Regions from separate parts of the Homo sapiens genome. Here regions 1, 2, 4, 5, 6 and 7 are each linked to region 3. The links are contacts of gene promoters, found by promoter capture Hi-C in blood cells and fetal thymus (Javierre and others, 2016). All regions are on one chromosome and are shown on one strand. Each heading gives the region's core, a stretch centred on a gene start or on the middle of the fragment in contact. The rest is flanking DNA. Distances are from core to core; before and after follow the strand shown. Region 1 overlaps SLC25A31 (solute carrier family 25 member 31). Region 2 has its middle 37 kb from the start of INTU. Region 3 holds the start of FAT4 (FAT atypical cadherin 4). Region 4 has its middle 98 kb from the start of INTU. Region 5 holds the start of HSPA4L (heat shock protein family A (Hsp70) member 4 like). Region 6 has its middle 54 kb from the start of INTU. Region 7 has its middle 74 kb from the start of INTU.

The links. Contacts are between HindIII fragments. The CHiCAGO score rates a contact against its expected background, and 5 or more counts as called.
Region 1: a fragment that was not itself captured here is called in contact with the fragment with the promoter of FAT4 in region 3 in 1 of 17 cell types (M2 macrophages); the score reaches 8.8 in M2 macrophages.
Region 2: a contact is called between a fragment that was not itself captured here and the fragment with the promoter of FAT4 in region 3, in 4 of 17 cell types (M0 macrophages, M2 macrophages, M1 macrophages and 1 more). The highest score is 20.5, in M0 macrophages.
Region 4: a fragment that was not itself captured here is called in contact with the fragment with the promoter of FAT4 in region 3 in 6 of 17 cell types (M0 macrophages, M2 macrophages, monocytes and 3 more); the score reaches 25.6 in M0 macrophages.
Region 5: a contact is called between the fragment with the promoter of HSPA4L here and the fragment with the promoter of FAT4 in region 3, in 1 of 17 cell types (M2 macrophages). The highest score is 5.2, in M2 macrophages.
Region 6: a fragment that was not itself captured here is called in contact with the fragment with the promoter of FAT4 in region 3 in 3 of 17 cell types (M0 macrophages, M2 macrophages and M1 macrophages); the score reaches 9.2 in M0 macrophages.
Region 7: a contact is called between a fragment that was not itself captured here and the fragment with the promoter of FAT4 in region 3, in 2 of 17 cell types (M0 macrophages and M2 macrophages). The highest score is 14.6, in M0 macrophages.

The regions. Positions count from the first base shown.
Region 1 is chr4:127,740,000-127,743,046 of GRCh38, reverse strand. All of the region lies in intron 1 of SLC25A31 (solute carrier family 25 member 31), which reads right to left. Among named protein-coding and RNA genes, the nearest start is that of SLC25A31, 11 kb to the right of the region's middle. The HindIII fragment of the contact is 3,078 bases long and covers 65-3,047 here.
Region 2 is chr4:127,594,706-127,597,891 of GRCh38, reverse strand. No RefSeq gene overlaps it. Among named protein-coding and RNA genes, the nearest start is that of INTU, 37 kb to the left of the region's middle. RefSeq lists a silencer at 1-118 and an enhancer at 917-1,086. The HindIII fragment of the contact is 1,270 bases long and covers 718-1,987 here.
Region 3 is chr4:125,313,630-125,316,391 of GRCh38, reverse strand. It overlaps FAT4 (FAT atypical cadherin 4), which reads right to left and starts at 1,437. Exons shown (of 18, transcript NM_001291303.3): 1 at 415-1,437. The HindIII fragment of the contact is 5,556 bases long and covers 1-2,480 here.
Region 4 is chr4:127,533,859-127,536,812 of GRCh38, reverse strand. No RefSeq gene overlaps it. Among named protein-coding and RNA genes, the nearest start is that of INTU, 98 kb to the left of the region's middle. The HindIII fragment of the contact is 293 bases long and covers 1,530-1,822 here.
Region 5 is chr4:127,780,909-127,783,641 of GRCh38, reverse strand. It overlaps HSPA4L (heat shock protein family A (Hsp70) member 4 like), which reads right to left and starts at 1,320. Exons shown (of 19, transcript NM_014278.4): 1 at 985-1,320. The coding sequence starts at 1,091. RefSeq lists enhancers at 570-649, 258-1,250, 1,150-1,299 and silencers at 1,440-1,509, 1,790-1,959. The HindIII fragment of the contact is 4,318 bases long and covers 794-2,733 here.
Region 6 is chr4:127,577,495-127,580,456 of GRCh38, reverse strand. No RefSeq gene overlaps it. Among named protein-coding and RNA genes, the nearest start is that of INTU, 54 kb to the left of the region's middle. The HindIII fragment of the contact is 9,345 bases long and covers 1-2,962 here.
Region 7 is chr4:127,557,216-127,560,185 of GRCh38, reverse strand. No RefSeq gene overlaps it. Among named protein-coding and RNA genes, the nearest start is that of INTU, 74 kb to the left of the region's middle. RefSeq lists a cis regulatory region at 2,808 and an enhancer at 2,724-2,893. The HindIII fragment of the contact is 2,875 bases long and covers 158-2,970 here.

The DNA of each region.
Region 1 (3,047 bases), core at 354-2,853, 2.4 Mb before region 3:
TCTAGGCTTGGATTTCTGGAGAAACAAATCACAGAAAAGTTCTAAAATTATAATAGATGAAGCTTTATTAAAAAAAGAAACTGCTGTAACAATTTTTGAACAGGAAGATAATGAAAAAGTTCACAAATACATGGAAATTAAACAACATGCTCTTAACAACCAATGGGTCAAAGAAGAAATGAAGAGGAAAATTAAATCTTGGGATAAAATGGAAACACAACATACCAACACTCACAGATGCATCAAAAGCAGTTAAGAGAGAAGTTTATAGCAATAAATGCATATGTATAAAGAAGAAAGATCTCAAATAACCTAATTTGATACCACAAGGAGCTAGAGAAAGAACAAACTAAGTCCAAAGTTAGAAGAAGGAGAGAGATAATAAAAATTAGTGTTACCAAAATGCCAAGGGTTTAGTCTAGGTTCTGCTGCTTATTGCACAGAAAACCAATCACAGAGACGATGAGTACTGCCAGGGAAGAAGGCTGTTTTGGGTGCTGTGTCTGAGGAGAACAGATCAATCTCAAATCCATCTCTTTCATGCACTAAAATTAGGAGTTTATATAGCAGAAAAGAAATGTAACTATGTGTGGGAAAGCAAGAATTAGGGAGGAATAAGAAGAAGGACTTGGTCAACAGGTAATCAATCAGGCAGTCATGACAGGCGAAGGGTTAGTGTCTCAATGTCCAGATGTGGTGATCTGGTAAGTTTCAGTTCCTCGATACTATCTGGGAGGCCCAAAGGTTGGTTTCCTGAGAAAGGAACTCAGATATGACAAATACGAGTTTCTCAAGTTTTAAGACTGAGAGGTCAATTTCTTGGTTTATTGATGAGAAACAATAAACATCAGTTCCATGGGCCAATTGAGCTGGTTTCAATGGCAGAAATAAATGAAATAGAGACTACAAAAATAATAGAAAAATATCAGTCAAACTAAGAGTTTATTTTTTTGAGATCCAGTGCTGGTTGGTATTTTATTAGAAGAAGATAAACAAAATTGACAAACCTCTAGCTAGACTTAAGAAAAAAAGAGAGGAGAGTCAAGTAAGTAAAATTATAAGTGAAAGAAAAGACATTACCACTAACATACAGTAATACAAAGAGTTGTAAGAGATTACTATGAACAATTATATACCAAGAAATTAAATAACATATATGAAATTGATAAATTTCTAGAAACATATAATCTACCAAGTCTGAATCATGAATAAATTTCTGAACAGACCAACAATGATTGAATCAGTAATCAGAAACTTAACAATAAAGAAAAGCCCAGGATCTGATGATTTCACAGCTGAATTCTACTAAATTCATTTTACAAGGCCAACATTACCCCGGTACCAAAGCCAACCAAAATACTACAAGAAAAGAAAATTGCAGGCCAATATTCCAATGAACAAACATGCAAAAATCCTCAGCAAAATACTACCAAATTGAATTCAATATAATGATAAAAGGATCATTCACCACAATCAAGTGGGATTTATGCCTGGGATGCAAGGATGGCTCAACATGCACAAATGGGTAAATGTCATATACCGCATTAACAGAATGAAGGACAAAAATCATATGAGCATCTCAAAAAATGCTGAAGAAGCATTTGACAGAATTTATCTTTATGTAATAAAAACTCTCAACAAATTAGGTATAGAAGCAATGTACTACAACATAATAAAGGCCATATGTGACAAGCTCACAGATAACATACTCAGTGGAGAAAAGTTGAAAACTTTCCTCTGAGATCAGGAATAAGACAAAGGGATCCACTCTTGCACTTTTATTCAATATAGTACCTTAAGTTCTAGCCAGAGTGATTAGGAAAAAGAAAAGTATCCAAATTAAAAAGAAGTTAAACTGTCTCTGTTTGCAGATGACATGATCTTACATACAGAAAACCCTAAATATGCCAACAAACTATTAGACTAATAATTCAGTAAAGTTTTAGGATATAAAATCAACACAGAAAAATCAATCACATTTCTATATACTAACAATGAACTACCTGAAAAAGTAATAAAACAGTATCATTCACAATAGCATACACGAAACATTAGGAATAAATTTAACCAAAGAGGTGAAAGATCTGTACGCCAAAAAGTTTAAAAAACTGATGAAAGAAACTGAAGAGATATCCAGGCATTTGGAGCACCCACTCACCTAGATGAGCAGCCTGAGCCACCCTACCCTTTCTGTGCAGAGATTGTGGTGCAGTGGGGCCCTCTCTGCTTTATACACAGGCAGATCTCCAGGCATTCAAAGAACCTGCTCACCTGCATTGGCAGCCTGAGTCACCCCACCCTTCCTTTGCAGAGATCTGTGTGGAGGAGGCCTTCTCAGCTTCACACTCAGGCAGGCAGAGTACCTACTTGCCATGATCAGCAGCCTGAGCTGCCCCATCCTTCCTGTGCAGACATTGTGGTGAAGTGGGGCTGTCTCTGCTCCACAACCAGGCAGATTTCCAGGCATTCTGACCATCTGCTCTCCTGAATCATCAGCCTGGCGCATCCTTTCTCCCAGTAAATAGGGGTCAAGTACATATGTAGCTGTGTTTGCCTCAGTTGACTCAGCTGTACATGCTATCTACTGGCCTGTAGGTTGGATCCCATAGCCCAATATAAAACCTGCTGACATACATGCATAGGGCTATAGAAGCAAAGTCAAAAGCCCCTGTCCAACATTGTCTACAGTTACACCCCCAAGGGTTATAGAGCAAAGTCAAAAGCCCCTACCCAACACTGTCTACAGTTACACCCCCAAGGGAGGAGGGGGAAAGAGAAAAGAAAAAACCCCAATAATGTTACATAGAAAAAGAAAAAAAATCCTACCTGCATTAAAATGACTACAAAAATTGGAAGCACTAGTGTCTCCAGTTGAGAAGGAATAGGGCAAGAAATCAGGCACCACAAAAAATGTGAATGTAATAACAACACCAAAGGATCACACTAGCGGTCAAGCAATGGTTCCTAGCCAAAATGGAAACTCAGAAATGACTAAGAATTCAAAGCATGAATTGCAAGGAAGCTCAATAAGATCTAAAAGAAGGTTG
Region 2 (3,186 bases), core at 103-2,602, 2.3 Mb before region 3:
AGCCTGCCTGCCTGACTCTTCACTGTCAAGAGGCCTTGCTACACACAGTTTCTTTAGCTTTCTCCTTTTTTCCCTCAAAACATTCTGTCTTGTAATCCCCTGATCAACATCTTCAGAGACCCACTTGCATATTTCAAACTGAGTATGTATCCTTCAGCCTGGTATTTAGGACCCTCTATAATTGGCTGTCTCTGTATAACCTCTCATGACTTATTTTATTCTCTACACTCAAGTCAAACTCATCAATTTGCTTTTTTTTTCTTGAAAATGTGCTACATTTTCTCAACTTTTCACATTTTCTCTTGCTGTTCTATTCACCAGGAATACTTTTTTTCATTTTCATCTGTAAAAATTCAAGCCATCTTCCAGATACATCTAGATGCCAAGTTCTTGGTTACGCCCTCCCTGTTCTCATTTGGATGTCACATCCCTTTCCCCCCCTGAATTATGCACTCAGCTTATGCCTTTACCAGGTCTTATATTAAGACCTACCTTATATTAAAGCTATTTTATATTTTTCTTGAATTCTGTTCTTGAGGACAGAAGAGTATCTTAATCCAAGTTTTGTCTTGTTTTTTTGAGACAATCTGGCTATGGTGCCCAGGCTGTACCACAACTCCTGGGCTCTAGTTATCCTCCCACCTCAGCCTCACGAGTAGCTGGGCCACAGAGGTGGTGTATAGTATTATTTTTTCATGCAATGTCTAAAACAAAGCTTGACCCACGGTAAGTGATCAACAAATATTTGTTCAGGCTGGCCTGGGCAAAGCAGTGAAACCCTGTCTCTATAAACAAACAAACAAACAAACAAACAAAAAACAAAACAAAAAAATTAGCCGGGCATGGTGGTGTACACCTGCAGTCCCAGCTACTCAAGAGATTGAGGTGGGAGAATCTCTTCAGCCTGGAAGGCAGAGGTTGCAGTGAGCCGTGATCGTGCCTCCGGCCTAGGCGACAGAGCGAGACCCTCTCTCAAAACAAAAACAAACACACACACACACAAAAAACAGAAATAAAATATTTTTTGAATTATTTTCTGATAATGTGGGGTGATTTTAAAGATTGATTTTCAACATAACACATTTCTGGAAACCATATTATAAAATAGATTGTTATAAAGTAGCTTATGTTTTGTATTGGAATGATATAATTCTCAGGGGCTTGGTATGTGCCTGATCATCAATTTTGGCATAATATTACCAACAATATGTTTTAAAAAGCGAGACTTGGCCAGGCATGGTGGCCCATGCCTGTAATCCCAGCACTTTGGGAGGCCGAGGCAGGCACATCACCTGAGCTCAGGAGTTTGAGACCAGCCTGGCCAACATGGCAAAACCCCTTCTCTACTAAAAATACAAAAATTAGCTGGGTATGGTGGCGTGCGCCTGTAATCCCAGCTACTAAGGTGGCTGAGGCAAGAGAATCGCTTGAACCTGAGAGGCGGAGGTTGCAGTGAGCCGAGATCACACCATTGCGTGATCACGCCCATCCAGTCTGGGTGACAAGAGCGAAACTCCGTCTCAAAAAAAAAAAAAAAAGGGCAAGCCTTTAAATTCAATAACTCTCAATAGTCATTTCCTCAGACTGTAAGTATAGTGTTGATTATATAGTGTTTTGAAACTGGGCAGAATCACACAGAATCACCTTTTCCAAACTTCCTCAGTTTATGAGATGACAAAGAGGTTGAATGACTGCTCAAGGTTTTACAGCAGGTTAGTGGCAGAACAGTGATTAAGACTCAAGTTTTCTGATCTCAGTTAAATAGCTTCTTCAGGACTTTATCATATCTCTTTAATAAAGTTCACAATACGAGTTTAAAGGTACTTTACCTATTTATTATACCAGGTTCTATGACAATTGCCTTCAAGTGTAAATATAGCTCATAAAATATTCCTATGGACCTATTCCTAGGGTCTCTGAATGTGTCTCCTCAGAATTCATATGTTGAAACCTAGTTACCAAAGTGCTGGTATTAGGAGGTGAAGCTTTTTAGAGGTGATTGGACGAGTGCCCTTGTAAAAGAGACCCCAGAAAGCTGCCTTGCCCCCTCCACCATATAACACAGTGAGAAATTGGAAGAGGGCACTTACCAGAACCCAGCCATGCTGGAACCATGATCTTGAACTTCCCAGCCTCCAGAACTATGAGAAATAAACCTCTGTTGTTTATGAGCCATCCAGTTGATGGTATTTGTTATAGCAGTATGAATGGACTAAGACACTTACGTTGTGTTTTTCTTATCTAAATGTTATTTTAGTTTAATATAGTTGTGTATTGCTTAACAATGGGAATGCATTCTGAGCAATGCTCTAAGTGAGTTTACCATTGCATGAACATCATGGAGTGTATGTTCACAAACCTAGATGGTATAGCCTACAACATACCTAGGCTATATGGTATAGTCTACAACATACCTAGGCTATATGGTATAGTCTATTGCTCTTTGGCTACATACCTGTATTGAATACTTTAGGCAATTACAACCACTGTGTATGTCAACATAAAAAAGGTACAGTAAAAATATGGTATAAAAGGTAAAAATGGTACACCTGTATAGGGCATTCACTATGAATGGAGCTTGTAGGACTGGGAGTTGTTCTGAGTGAGACAGTGAGAGAGTGGTGAGTGAATGTGAGGGCTGAGGACTTTATAAACACTGTACCCTTTGGCTACACTAGATGTATAAAAAATATTTTTCTTTCTTCAAAATGAATTAACCTTCACTTACTGTAACTTTTTTTTTACTTTATATGCTTTAAAATTTTTTTAAATTTATGATCTCTTTTGTAATAACACTTAGCTTAAAACACAAACGCATTGTACAGCTGTGAAAATATTTTCTTTCTTTATATTCTTGTTCCATATGTTTTTTTCTTTTTTTTTCAGCACTTTTATTTTTTTATTTATTTATTATTATTTTTTTTAAATGTTTTTTTTTTTTTATTATACTCTAAGTTTTAGGGTACATGTGCACATTGTGCAGGTTAGTTACATATGTATACATGTGCCATGCTGGTGTGCTGCACCCACTAACTCATCATCTAGCATTAGGTATATCTCCCAATGCTATCCCTCCCCACTCCCCCCACCCCACCACAGTCCCCAGAGTGTGATATTCCCCTTCCTGTGTCCATGTGATCTCATTGTTCAATTCCCACCTATGAGTGAGAATATGCAGTGTCTGGT
Region 3 (2,762 bases), core at 188-2,687:
ATGTGATAAAGAGAAGGAAGGGGTGAAGCAAACGCAATGATATTTACAGGGATTAAGGAGCGCCAGCAAAGATTCAGCTGACGGCTTGGTCTGAGACCTCTGCTATTTCAAAGAACCTCCAGTCCGGCAAAAGCAAGTAGCATCAGCAAAAGACTCTAGGTAGCCAGTTGAACGCGGAGTGCAAGAGAGATGCTGTGGCGAAAAGCGGCAGGGCATTCCGCGGGACACTCCTGTGAGCTGAGTTCCCAGAAAAGTTTCTCAAGCCTCTTATATATGCCCCCTTTTACTTTGTTTTTGAATCCAGATAGTCTGAGCGTTTTCACCCGGGTGGATGAGAGTTGGGAGAAGTTGCCTGTATCTAAGGTATATGAGGAATCATTGCAAAGAACGGTCTTCAGAAACTTTAGAACTTACCCGCAGCGAAGAACGTGAAGAGGGAGGAACAAACGTCCAAGCACAACTGCGCACCGGGGAAGGGGTGGTGGGGAACCGGGAGAATCGAATTTCTTTCCCAAAAGCTGGAGGCGATGGAATTCCTGGAGTCCCCACTCCTCAAAAACCAGGCTGCAACGCCCCTCCAACAGGGCGCCGGCAGTGGCCGCTGAGGCCCAGGCGGCGGCGTCTGCGCGCAGGCAGTTCGGGAACTGCGTTCCAAGCGCTAGCGTTCGCGCTCTGGCTCCCGTACCCGGGAGCGCTCAACTCTGCCCCTTCCCCTCCTGCAGCCGCCGCCGCCGCCGCCCCTGTTGCGGCTTCAAGCCCGTGGTCCGGCACAAACAACAGCCAGGGCTCCTCGGCATTTTTCACCTCTGCCGGGGCGCCTGCCGACCCATTATTTGTACATCCAAATCGAACGCAGTTTCCCCTTTCTTCTCGGCCTCGCAGGGGTCGGGCAGAAACAGCGTGCGGTCCCCGAGTCGCCCTCCCCTCACCATGCCAGGGGGGGTCGTTCTCCGGCGGCCCCAGTCAGAAGCCCACTCTAGCGCGCCTCGCCCCTGCCCTCGCTATCTCTGCTTTTATTGTCCCGTGTCAGTTTCACTTTGTAATCCACAAGGCTTTTTGTTTGGGGCGGGGGGTGGTTGATGCCTCTCTCTCCTTCACAGTTGGCAGCGGAGGCGGCGAAGTCGGCGCTGGGCTGTAGTGACGCCCTCCGCAGCTCCGGACGGCGCCTGTCAGCGCTCTCCCTCTCGCCGGCCGGGGCCGAAGGTTGGACTGCGGTGGAGCTAGGGCTCCGCGAGCCCTTCTCCACCTCCCGCCTGGTCCCTCACACTCTCCCCGCCCCTTCCCCGCCGCACAGGCATGCACACACACACACATACACACGCACACACACACACACAGCGCGTCGCCGAAACACAAACAGAGGGGGAGGGAAGACCGCGAGCTGGAGCAGCACTCAGAAACTTTGCTCGACACTCATTGATCCCCGCACTTTAGTTCGCCTGGACTCCCCCTAGCTCCCAGTCCTGTCACCTTCTGCCCCTCCCTCGCCCCAGCCCCATTGGGCCGGAGCTGAAGCAGCCCCGACCGGCACTCCTACCGCGAGCGCCCTCCGCCTTGCCCGGCCTCCGACTGGCTTCTCGGGATGCTAATCACTTCAGCCTCCCGGAGGGCTGTAGGCGGTCTGGTGTGGGAGCACAGCGAGGCGGAGGCGCTAAAAAGGGGGGTGATTTTTTTTCTTTTCTTTTTTTTTTTTTTTTTTCCTTTTCGGCCAAATCTTGGCCGGCGTCAGAGCAATAACAGCAAAAGGCTGCCGCAGAATAGATGGGGGTGGGGTCAGGTTTGCAGATAAATAACTTTAGTGGCAGGGTCTGGGGGAAGACCGTTAGGTTGTTATGCTAGTAATAACTCAGGGGTAAGGGGGTCGAGAGAAATAAAAGAAAGGCGGGGGGTGAGGGTCTGTTAAAGCGGGGAGGAAGGATTAAGCAAAGCCTGTCTGGGAATGCACAGTGCAGATTTGCTTTAACCATTTCCTGCCCCTTCTCTCTTTATGCAAGGGATAGAGCTGCCATACAGTGTGATCCCACAGAATCCAAATCAAATCCTCCCCTTTGCTCCTCTTTCTACACAGTGGGCTCCCTGCTGTCTAGGGCGAGCTAAACTCTAAATCTTCACTCACTTGCCCCTCTCCCCCACCTTCCAGGTGACTAGGGGGCAGGAGGCCTCCGTAGCAAGGGCACTTTGGACTTCCTACTATAGGAAAGGCCAGGGGAACTCAGTGTTTGTTTTGTTTTCTTTCCCAACTGGATTCCAGGTGCCAGTAGCCCAAACCTTAGGGTTTCAACAACAATAATAATGGCAGCCCTTTGAAAAGAGGGAGATCTTTTCCTGTTGCAAAGTTAGTTTGGAATTTTGATCCCTGATGGAGTATTTCCACCTCCACATTTTTTAGTCAAAGGAAACCTAATAAAGTTTTATTTTGCTTTTCAGTCTGGGAGAAATAGATACGAGAAAGTAGAAATAAATAAAATAATATTTAAGCTTAAGTTTTTAAAAATACCCACATGCCACTTAATGCACTCAGATCAACTCACCCACTATTCACTGCAGTTAATTTTTGTGGTGGCATGCATCGTTTCTTTAAAAGAAGAAAAACGTTACTAGGAATCAGATCGATATTTTTCCCCTTTAAGGGAACCAACCTAGAAAATAAGAATTCAAGCCAAACAATGCAAATACAGGGCATATGTCATACATTTCTGCCACAAGGATCCCTCACAAACGTAAAACTTTCTGCGCCCAGAGAGGGTTCAGTCATGAGTAAA
Region 4 (2,954 bases), core at 427-2,926, 2.2 Mb before region 3:
TGGCAACCTAACATTATGTGAGTAGCCAAGGTAGAATTTAAACACTAGTGTCTCAGTCTATTTTCTGTTGCTTATAACAGAATACTTGAAAATGAGTAACTTATAAACAAAAGGAATTTATTTACAGCTTTGGAGGCTAAGAAGTACAATGTTGAGGAGCTGCATCTGGTGAGGGCCTTCTTGCTGGTAGGGACTCTGAAGATTCCTGAGGCAGTGTAGGGTATCACATGGTGAGAGGGCTAAGCATGCTAGCTCAAGTCTCTCTCCTTTTTCTTATAAAGTTAATTAATCCATGAATGGATTATTCTATTCATGATGACCAAGCCCTGATGAACCAGTTACCTCTTAAAGGCCCCACCCCTCAACATTGCCACATTAGGGATTATATTTCAACATGAGGTTTGGAGGGGACAACTGTTCAAGTCATAACAACTGGTTTTGATAATCCGTTGGCTAGGCTTTTTAAGAACTATCCTGAGTTTATAGCTATGATCTATACATTATTCAATGTTTAACAATTTTTTTTATTAAAGGCAGTAAATTAAGAAAGCTTTAAAGAAACAAACACACAGAAATAAAATAGGGGTACAAATGTCTACTTAGTGTATGCCATGATAGAAGCATCTGAATTAATGTGAGAAAGTCATAAGTAGAAGATAAAACTTGAGGAGAACAAATTAGGGTTTGCTTGTTAATTTGCCTATTTTGTTTCTTTCAGAGATTTTCCTTGTGAAAACCTTGGTGGTGAAGGGCAGGAGAATATGCTACCCCCAGAATTCGACTTTGGCATAAGGATTATCTTGAGCTGAAGGGAATTGAGAAGAAGCACAAACAAGAAAAGCTGTCTGCCCTCTCCCTATTTGCCTAAAATCAGGAAATAAATATACAAAGATGTACCTCTTTACCTCTCTACCAGGAATGACAAAGTTTGATCAGTGGAGATGACTTTAGACCCTTATCAGCCTGGAGATGGCACAAGAGAAATCTATACAGCAAACTTTACCAACTGTTCTACCTACTATTGGTTTCCCATATAATTGCTTTTCCACAATATGCCACATCTAGACACTCAAAGTCCTTTTCCTTTTTCTTGTCACTTCTCTGAAATTGTATTGTACTTTGTTGAAGATGCTATATAAGCTGAAGTTCTAAGCCATCTTTTTGAGAGTTACTCTTTCCTTTAGTTCTCTCTCATGTATATATGAAATATACATGTTAGTGAACTTGTTTGTTTTTCTCTTGTTAATCTGTCTTTTGTTGCAGGAGGTCCAGCTAAGGACTCTGAAGAGTAAAGGAGAAATTGTTTTCTCCTCTCCTACAGTGGATTTTGTCTTTTTAGTGCAGAAAGTTGCATTAAAGATGGCAACAACAGTCACTCAAGATGGTTTCTATCCACAGATAATTTCATTGATTGGAGCAAAGTTTTTCCAAGGATCATTGTTATGAGCTGAACTATGTTCCCCTCAAATTTATACGTGGAAATCCTAACCCCTAGTACTTCAAAATGTGACTATATTTGGAGACAAGCTTTTCAAAGAGAGAATTAAGGCAAAGTAAGGTCATCAGAATGGACTCTAATCTCACATAACTGGTGTCCTTATAAGAAGAGGAGATTAAGACACAGATATACATAGAAGAAGACCATGTAAAGACATGGGAAGAAGATAGTCATTTACAAGCCAAGAGGAAGAGCCTTCAGAAGGAACCCTGTCAACACCTCTGTCTTAGACTTGTAGTCTCCAGAACTGTGAGGAAATAAATTTCTGTTGCTTAAGCCACCCAGTTTGTAGTACTTAGGTATGGCAGCCCTCGCTAGCAAGCTTACATCAAAATGACACATGAGGCTTGTGAAAAATGACAGATCTATGCATGATTGAAAAAAGAAAGGAAAATATTAAAGAATCTGTCTCTACTTCTAGTTTCTTCTGAGAAAAGTTAGGATACAATTTCTGTCAAAGGATGGTACTGACCTTGTGTAATTTTCATTCTTCAGGAACTATAATCACATTACCATGTCAGCAAACCACACAGATTTTTATTTTGTCTAAAAAAGCATGATTTCCACTCTTTGGAATAATACTGTTAACTATACACGAAGATAAATATAAAAGACAGCGCCACATTGACTGTGGATTCTGAAATTCCCTTTATTACATTTATTCTTGGATTCTCAGACCAAACCCTGGGACTCAGACCAAAGAAATTTTGGTTTAATATGAAGATTTCTTAAAGCTCTGACCTGACAGTCTTATAATTATATTTTCTTCTTGTGTATATCCCTAGATATACAAACAGAACATCTTAAAACTGCCTGATCCAACAAATATTATTAGTTGATTATTCAAGGCATGATGATTCCATTATTTTTGGATCTTTTTTATGGCATGCTAATGTTCTCTATATCTCTTCTTCATGGCTTCTGTTGTTTCCTCTTTTCTTTTCCCACCTCTCCTTCTGTCTCCTATTTTTTTTCTCCTTGTCCCCTTGTATATGTACAATTTCTATAATCCAACTCATAAATCCTTGTGCTAATTCCACTCTCAGTAACTATTAAGATGGAATTCCACACGTGTCACAACAAATATCCACATGTGACAAGCAATTAGTGATACTACTCTCTGAATGCTTTTTGTTTTAGAAGTGTAAATTTACATAAAAAATAAAGCAAAAAAAACCCAAAAAACAAAAAACAAATGTTTGCTTATAAAGCGTGTAGTATTTTTTGCATGATATTAATTTTACAACCACCCAGTGGGAGAAGAGGAAAGAGAGTTCACCTTAAGCGTTTTCAGAGGGTTTTGTAATGTTGTTATAAATTTCTCTAAACAAAGTTAATATTAATTCTTTCTAATATATAATAAATTTTGACTAGAATTTGTAGAACTCTAAATCCTTTAGTCCTAAATTATATACTATGGACTTAATGAAGTTGTTTTATAGCAATGTTCTATAGA
Region 5 (2,733 bases), core at 71-2,570, 2.5 Mb before region 3:
TCCTCATAAAATTACCAGTAACAGCAGCCTATAAGCAGCAACTAGTTTTTCATATTTCAGAATTACTTCATTATATTCCTTGCCAACAAACTTCCCAGGCCAGAGAAACAACGGAACATGTGGAAACATGTTTCCATGACATAACGCCGCTCCTCCTAAGCCTTTCATTAAGCGTTCATAATAGAATCACTCCACAGTCATGTTTATACGGGACAGCTGCCCCCGACTCCGGCAATTCACTCTGCAGAAACACGCTTTTGGTCCGACCCAACCCCGCCGCATTCCAGCAACTGACGTAGTTACCAATGCACAAGGCCAGTGACTCCCATCCCGAGGCTCTCCCTATCAATGCACCATTGACCTGGCCCTGTAAACCGGCTCCATTACCTGCAGTTCTCAAGGGCACTGGGTTTTGTAAAACCCCACATGCCTCACTCCCCGCCCTTAAAAAAAAAAAAAAGGCTTTCGGGGCCAGATGAACCTGCAATTCATCTCTGACGTGTGCAGCCGAAGCTGACTTTTTACTTTTCTGAGAAAAAGCTGTCACCCAGAGGGACGGGGAAAGGAAGGAGGGCAGCTGGCGCGGGGCCGATAATCCCACGTAAACCTCGTTAGAGGCAACCGGAGATCTTTCTCAATATTCCGGACGCCAGGGGCTGTCCCACAGCAACCTCTTCCTCGCAAGCAAAAGAGGCGTTGGGGGACAGCGGCACGAGGCAGGGGACGTGCGTAGGTACAGAAAAGAGAGCTGCGCAAACTAGTGCGGTCCCTCGTCCTTGAAGGAAAAGAAGCTTTGCGGGGCGAGGAAGTCCGACTGCCACCCGGCGGTCTCTAGGGACTGCGGTTGACGGGTTGCACCTGTCATCTCGGGGTTCGGCGCACGTTAGGGGAAAATCCGAGGAAGCGAGCAGACAGGACAAACGTTAAGGACGGGAGAGAAAAACGTTTCTTAGGGTCGAGGTGATGCTCAGCAGAGGCACTTACGGGGTACACCTGTCGCTGTACTCATTGGCGATGGTCTCGATGCCGCCACTTCTCGCGACAGCAATGTAGCAGTTGAGAAAGCCGAGGTCAATGCCAACCACAGACATCCCGCCGCGTGATGGTCGGGCTGCTGGTACTGAACCCTTCGGTACGGGAACCGTGTCCTCTTCTGGGCTATTGCTGCTGGGATTGCGACTCCTACCAGAAGCAAACGAGAGGGGACCCCAAGTCGCTAAGCAGAAAATCTAGGGCAGGGAGTCGGAAACCCGCGGAAGGAGCAGAGGCCGTCAGCGCCGCAGCCTGCACCGCGTCCCGCAGCCTGGGTCTTTCCCTACTGCGGTTCGGCCGCCTCCAACCGGCGGTTACTGGGACCTGCGCCTGCGCGCTCGGCTGCCCGGGAGGCGCGCGAGCCTCCGCTCCGCGCCCGAGCCAGCTCCGGGCCCGGACTTCGGCCGCTTCCGTCAGCACTCGGGCAACGGCTGCCCAAGAAGCTGCGGGTTCGAGAAAGATCTGGAAAATGGAGGCTGCTGAGCTATCCGGGGGCGGGAGAAGCGGGAAGGCGGGGCGGGGAGGATCGGGGAAAGGAGGCTAGGCACATTGGCTTGCTCGCCCTCGCTCGGCAGTAGGACGTCGGGCGGTCGGGCTAGGTGAGAGGCAGGCGACCGGCCGGCCCGGGGCTTTGCGAACGTGTTTTGAGGCACATTTTTGGGTTGTTTTGGCAACCGGAGGCGTGCTTGTCACGGCGGCAGGATGCTGTCCTGGCTGGCGGGCGCCGCCCCCTCACCCCCTGCCCTCAGAAGGGCTCGCCCGCAGGCCTCGCCTCCCCGAGGGGCCCATGTGCAGCCCGGCGCCCTCCCCTTGTGGCTGGAGGCCCGCCGCGCCCGGCTCTGTGAGGTGGCGCGCATTGTCCGACGTCCGCCGCTCCGCCCTGTCCAGCCCCGGGGGAGCTGCCGAGCCCGGGACAGACTCTTGTGCGAAAGCGGGATGAGCACATGTTAGGTTTTTTTCTTTTTTCATCAGCAGGATTTGAAATATCAAAAGTCAAACTTCTGTCAAGAAATAAGATCACACTGACAACTTTCCCTCCACGTACCTTTCCTCACACCTTTCTAAAAGATGCTGGCCCCGCCGCTGACCCTTGTCTCTGGAAACCAGTTTTACAGGAAAGTGACCTTAATTAAGTGTGCCACTCACACCAGCCAAGTCTGTGCTTTAGCCTCCAGCCGCTGCCCTGTGGTCCTCAAAAAAGAGCCCAGTGTGGTCCAGCGCCCTCCCTCTTGGTTTGATCGGCATGTGTTGCCTGTCTGTAATTAACCAAGTTTTATGTTACACTTAAGAAATTTGGCTGTCTTGTTGCTTTTCGTTCACTTTTACGTGTGTGCCCTGTTCCTTCTCTGCCAGTCCTTGGTCTGTTCCCTGTTCCTCCCCGTCCTCTTCATCTAGTCTCTGTTCCTTCTCATCCAATTCTTTGTGTGTTTTCCTGTTCCATTTTGGTATCCATCTTGAAAACAGGCGTGTTTTTTTGTTTGTTTGTTTTGTTTACTAGATTCTTTAGTATTCTGATTATCCCTAGTTGTCCACTTCTTTAAATAACTTAGATTTTTTACTATTAATAATGTTGCTACAGCAGCAGCAGCAGCAAGGGTGGCTATAGTTCCTGCTGCTGTTAGAATGAACGTGAAATCCATTTTCAAGGGCAATACTGAGGCAACTGGATTGTACAGTATTGCTTGGGCTCTGGTCTCTACA
Region 6 (2,962 bases), core at 11-2,510, 2.3 Mb before region 3:
ATTGCAACTGTTTTGTTTTGTTTCATTTTTGAGAAGGAGTCTTGCTCTGTTGCCCAGGCTGGAGTGCAATGGTGCAATCTCTGCTCGGTGCAATCTCTGCTCACTGCAACCTCAGCCTCCTGAGTTCAAGCGATTCTTGTGCCTCAGCCTCCCGAGTAGCTAGGATTACAGGCCTGCACCACCACACCTGGCTACTATTTTGTATTTTTAGTAGAGACGGGGTTTCGCCATGTTGGCCAGGCTGGTCTTGAACTCCTGACCTCAGGTGATCTGCCCGCCTTAGCCTCGAAGTGTTGGAATTACAGGCGTGAGCCACCGTGCCCGCTGCAACTGTTTTTATTTGCTCTTTGGGGCCTGCGGGACTCCCTTGGGCAGAGGTCTGGCCGAGAGATAGGCCACGCCCTTACAAGACCAGCCTGTGGAGGGAGGCACGCCTAGGTCCCAAACCAGCCCGCAAACCTGTGTGACTCAGCTCTCTCAGTTTTCTGAGAGTGTGGCCTCCTCCTCTCCAACTTCCAGCGCTGGGCATAGATCTCGGCTTGACACTGCCAAACCAAGGGTGGTAGACCTGGGGGAATAGGACCTACTCTTGGTCCCCTCCTTCAGACCTAGGGAGTTGAGTTCCAGGTGTGCTGGGGAATCCAAAGGGCTCCCAAGCTGCCAGAATGCACTCAGCTGGAGCAAAGCACCCATGCTGGGCAGCAGAGGCTGCACTGCGTACACACTCTTTTGGGGCAGCCAAGCAGGAGCCCTGGGAGGGGCTGGCGGGCAGGTGGGCTTGCAGGGCACACATGCCCTAGTCCAACAGGGAAGCCAGCACTGCTTTCTCCATGGTGGTTAGCTGGGGCCAGAACTTCTCAGAGGGAGACGGAGAGCCCCGGGGATGGACACTTACGGCCTGGCTCTGCTGGAGCTGTCCTGTGCACAAAGGTCCCTGGCTCCATGCCTGCTATATGTCTGTCTTCATTTAATCTCCAGGAAGATCCCCCTATACCAGCTCAAACATCTGTGAGGACTGTGGGGTCCCCTGCAGCTAGGATGCCAGAGGTCCATGGTGAGAGTAGGCATTCCCTCAGTTCCTTCACTGACTCATTTCCCAGGAGTCAAACCCAACCCTAGCATTCAGGCACTCCACATGCGGTTCCCAGCTTCCTCCTTCTTCAGCTTCAGCATCTGTATCTTTTCTTCGTCCACATTTGGCATTTTCTCTCCAAAGATCTGTTCAAATTATGTTGATTTGGTTGAAATACCGTTGTCTCTCCGTAGGAGCAGCACTTCCCGCCTGCATCTAGTCGGCCATCTTGCCCACCCTCCCGGAATTCTTGGAAAAGGAGTCTTTCTGCCAGATGCTGACCTTTCTTCATGCTAGTAGGGTATATAATAAGGTAGTTTTTCAATTTGAGAGGCATATCTGAAAAGAGTTCTCTCTCCAAATTTTCCTTGGAATTGAAATTAAATTTATAACACTTGCCTGAACTATTACAGCAATATAAACTTAATACTTCTTTGTCAACCTAAAAATTTAGGAAGAAAAGACATTTTCGTCATGTATGAAGACAAAAATGGTTGTATTCCTATGTTATGGGTTAGTCACTATCTTCATTTAGCTCAAGGTGAAGAAGACTGAGAAGAAACGTCAAAACCCATTCCCCCCCCCCCCGCCCCCCCGTTTTCCATTCAAAGGGGAGCAAGCTGTCCTTCTAAGGGAAGAAGCCAGCAGGACTCCCTCCAGGCAGGCTGAGAGGAGACAGGATTCTATTTCTTCTTAAAGACTCACAGCTCACATTTTTCTCTTTTTAGCTACATAGCTGGACACAGAATCTTTAGAGTTGAGAGTCTTTACAAAGCTGGCTGGGTAGATTTCTGGCCCAGCCTAATATCTTCTGTCCTCCTTCACTTTCCAGGATCAGTCAAACACATGCCTGAATTTAAAATGTTACCATCAGTTGAAGTAGCTAAGGCTCCTAATTAATGTGTTTATTAGACACATTTCTTAGAAAGGGATTAATAGATTTCCTTTTATTCCTTGATCCACTCTTCATGAATATTTCACTCTTTCATTCATTCATTCAAATGACAAATATTTACTGAGCTTCTACTGTGTGCCAGGCATACATCTAGACTCTGGGGATCCAGGTAGTAATAGCAACAACATCTTTCTCATCATGGAACATAATTTATAGTGAGGGCCATGGACAAGAACAGACATGCATGTAATACATGGGTGATATGATTTGGATATTTGTCCCCTCCAAATCTCAAATTGAGTTTATTTTGCTCTAATAGTTTAAGCAAGTGTTGTCATGGGGGTGGATCCCTCATGAATGACTTGGTGACCTCCCCAGGGTAATGAGTGAATTCTTGCTGTTAGCTCACATAAGTACCGGTTATTTAAAGGAGCCTGACATCCTTCTCTTGCTCCTACCATTGCCATGTGATACATCAGCTCCCCCTTTGCCTTCCACCATGATTGTAAGGTTCTTGAGTCCTCACCAGAGACTAAATGGATGCCGGTGCCATGTTTGTACAGCCTGCAGAACTGTGAGCCAAATATATCTCTTTTCTTTATAAATTACCCAGTCTCAGGTATTCCTTTATAGCAATGCAAAATGGATTAACACAATAAATATTAAAGGTATGGGGATAGAGAATGATATCATTGTGGTCAGGGAAAGCCTTTCTGATAGGAGATGTGAGTGAAGTGTCGGGGAAAGCTATGTAAATATGTATTGGAAAGGCATTCTAGGAAGAGAGAACAAGTGCAAAGACCTTGAGCTGAGATTGTGCGTGGCCTATGGAATATCAAGGACAGTATTGAGGCTGGAGAGGATTGAGGAGAGAGAGTACTGAAGAAAATGAGCTCACAGAGGTGGCGATATGAGATGAAATTTGCATGTGTATTTCTGTACCTCCCTGGGTTAAATGAAAATTGAGGGCTCAGTTTTTAGATATGGTGACATGC
Region 7 (2,970 bases), core at 346-2,845, 2.2 Mb before region 3:
ATTTAGCCACTGCACAGTCATGCGGGCTGCTGCAGTGGGGTGGGCAGCTCCAGGTGCTGGCATGGGCACCGGCTTTCAGAGAGTCTGTGGCCAGACCAGGTGCACTGCAGGCAGCTTCCATGGCTGGCACTGGAGAACACAGTGGTGCCCAGAAGCTTGGAGATGCCAGAAACTGCAGGGCCCCAAAGAGGGAGTCACAGCCCTGGCTTGGGGAGCTCCCAGGTCTGGGCTTCCTAAAGGGCTGCAGCTCACCTCTTGTTCTTTTGGCCCACATGTGGCAAGCAAGGGGCGTGTTTCAGCCCTGTTTGTGTTGCAGGTTGTCTTTTAGACTTGCCATTTGGCAGGTCCTGAGTTCTTGTCTTGCAACTGGGAAGAATGAGGTATGCAGACAAGTAAAGGGTGAACAAGATGAAGAGGAGATTTATTGAGTGATATAACAGCTTAGAGGAGACTCACAGGGGGCAGCTGCTTTCTGCAGCCAGGGTGTCCTGTTGAATGTTCAACTCCCAGCTGAGAGGGTAGCTCCTCTCTGCAGGCAGGTTGTCCCAACAAGTGTTTAGCTTCCAGCAGAGAGGGTGGCTCCTCTCTGCAGCTGGTCACCCCATTGTCCGTCCAGCTCTGCCTGAGCATGGGGCTTTTATGTGCCTCAGAGGGAAAGAAATGCATGCTGATTGGTCTATGGGCTGCTATGGGTGGGCCTGAAAAAGGCATCACAAGTTCCCACTCCAGTCTGTGGGACTGGGTGCCAAGCCCCCAGCCTTCAGGCCCTCCCTGGCTTGAAGGTAGGGCTTCACTGGGACTGCCCCCTTCCACCTGGGTGCCTATCTGCCTCCTGCCACCATCCATGGTGCCCAGGCTGCTTATGCCAATGGGCACCTGCAGGCCAGCACTGAGCTGCCCTCAGTGTCTCCCCTTGGCTTTCCCCCGACCCTATGCTCATTGTTGCCCAAAGTCAGGAGTGGGCTGAGGCAGCAGGGAACTGGCAGGTTTCAAGTGTGCTGCCCTGAGTGTGTGCACACCTGGATAGGCTGTGACAGTGCCTGAACTCGGCCCCAACCCCACTTCAAAATTGGAGAGTGTGCCAGGAGCAGAGAGAGGCCAGGTGGAGGGAGCAGACACCCCCAAGCCTGCAGGGGCAGTAGGGGCCTTCCCAGGCCCCCCAGGTTGCAGAGTACAGAGATGCCCACATACTGCACCTGGGAGGGCAGGGCTCTTTCACCTGCTCTATGGAGCATGCAGGGATCCCCAGCTGCACTTCCTCACAACCTGGGGTGGGGTCTCCAGGTCCTCGCTGGGCCCCTCTCTGCCCACCCCTCTTTGCCAAACTTATGCTGCTCCCCTGCTGGCAGGCAACTCTGCCCAGCCCCATTGTGGCAGCTACCAGGGTGGTGGGCTCCAAGGAGACTCCTGCTTGTCCCTGGCTCCTGCTGGCTCCATGGAGTGCAGCACCACCCCAGGCCCAGCTCCACCTCATCCCAGCACCCTCCCCACAGTGGCTGTAGGCAAGAGTGATGAGAGTCCAGAGTGAAGGAGGCTCTGGGCCTGGGGATAGGTCCTGCCCTGCCACATGAGGGTAGGAGTGGCACAGCCAGCTGCTTTGGGCATGTGAGGCACAGGGAATCTACACCGCCATTGCTGATCCCACAACTGCTCCTGCCACCACTGCTCACACCTCCCCACTGCAGCTGGCATGATGGCAGCAGCCGATCCTGACAGCCTGCCATGCCATCATGGCCACATGTGGGTAATGAGCACTTGAAATGTGGTTAGTGCAACTGTGGAACTGAATTTTTTATTTAATTAAACTTAAATTTAAATAGCCACATGTGGCTGGTGACTAGTATCTTAGGCAGCACAAGTCAAGACAATACTTTCTGTTGATAATTACCCACTTCCCAAACAGTAAAAACTGGAGGAACAGACAAGAACAAAGCTGGCGAGAGGCCATGCAGCTCAGGTGGCAAAGGCAAACTTGAAGGCTGCTGTGGGTGTAATGAAGGTCCGTGTATCAGTCCGGGCCCAGTCAGGAGAAACCACCCAGTTACTTATTTATTTTTGTTGAGGCAAAACTGACATAATATAAAACTAATCATTCTAGAATCAATAACTCAGTGGCATTTACTATATTTACAAATGTTGTGCAACTACCACTTTTTTCTAGTTTCAAAATATTTTCATCACCCCAAAAGAAAACCCCGCACTTATTAAGCAGTTGCTCCACATTCATTCCTCTCTTTAGCCCCTGGAAGGCACCAGTCAGCATTCTGTGTCTATGGTTTTGCCTGTTCTGGATATTTCATATAAATGGAATCATACAATATGTGGCCTTTTGTGTCAGCTTCTTTCACTTTCTAGCAACACTATTTGTAATAGCCAACAGGTGGAAACAGCCCAAATATCCATTAATGGATGAATGGGAAAAAATTGGGGTACATACATATAATGGAGTATTATCCATTGAAGGATGCTTGAGGCTGGTTCTGAAAGTGTTGGAAGAACCACAAACTGGATTCAACCACTGCTGTGGGAAGGTACTGCTGCTGTTGCTGAACTAGGAAGTAGGAAGACAGCCAATAGAACTAACAGGAAGTGGACAGGAAGGATCATGTCTCTTTTCCCTACTGCAGCCTTACAGTCTGCCCCCCTGTTAGAAAAGCCTGACAGTAGTCGACTGGCAAAGCAGACTGTGGTTTGCAGAGTTCCAGCCCCAGCATCACAAATCAGAGTAAAGAGGGAGTAGTTTGGGAGCTAAGAAACAATAATTAAGAAAGGGCATAGTCCATACAAGAAAAGGACTCTGGGCTGTACTGATAGAGCTTGGGTGTGTAGGGGGGAATGCCGAGATCTCAGATACAGTTTTTTATAACTTCATGGAGTTTCATCCTTACTTTATTCTTTGTTAGATGTAAGAAAAGGATCTACCTGGCCAGTGCACATTGAAATATAATGTACTAACATATTTATATACTT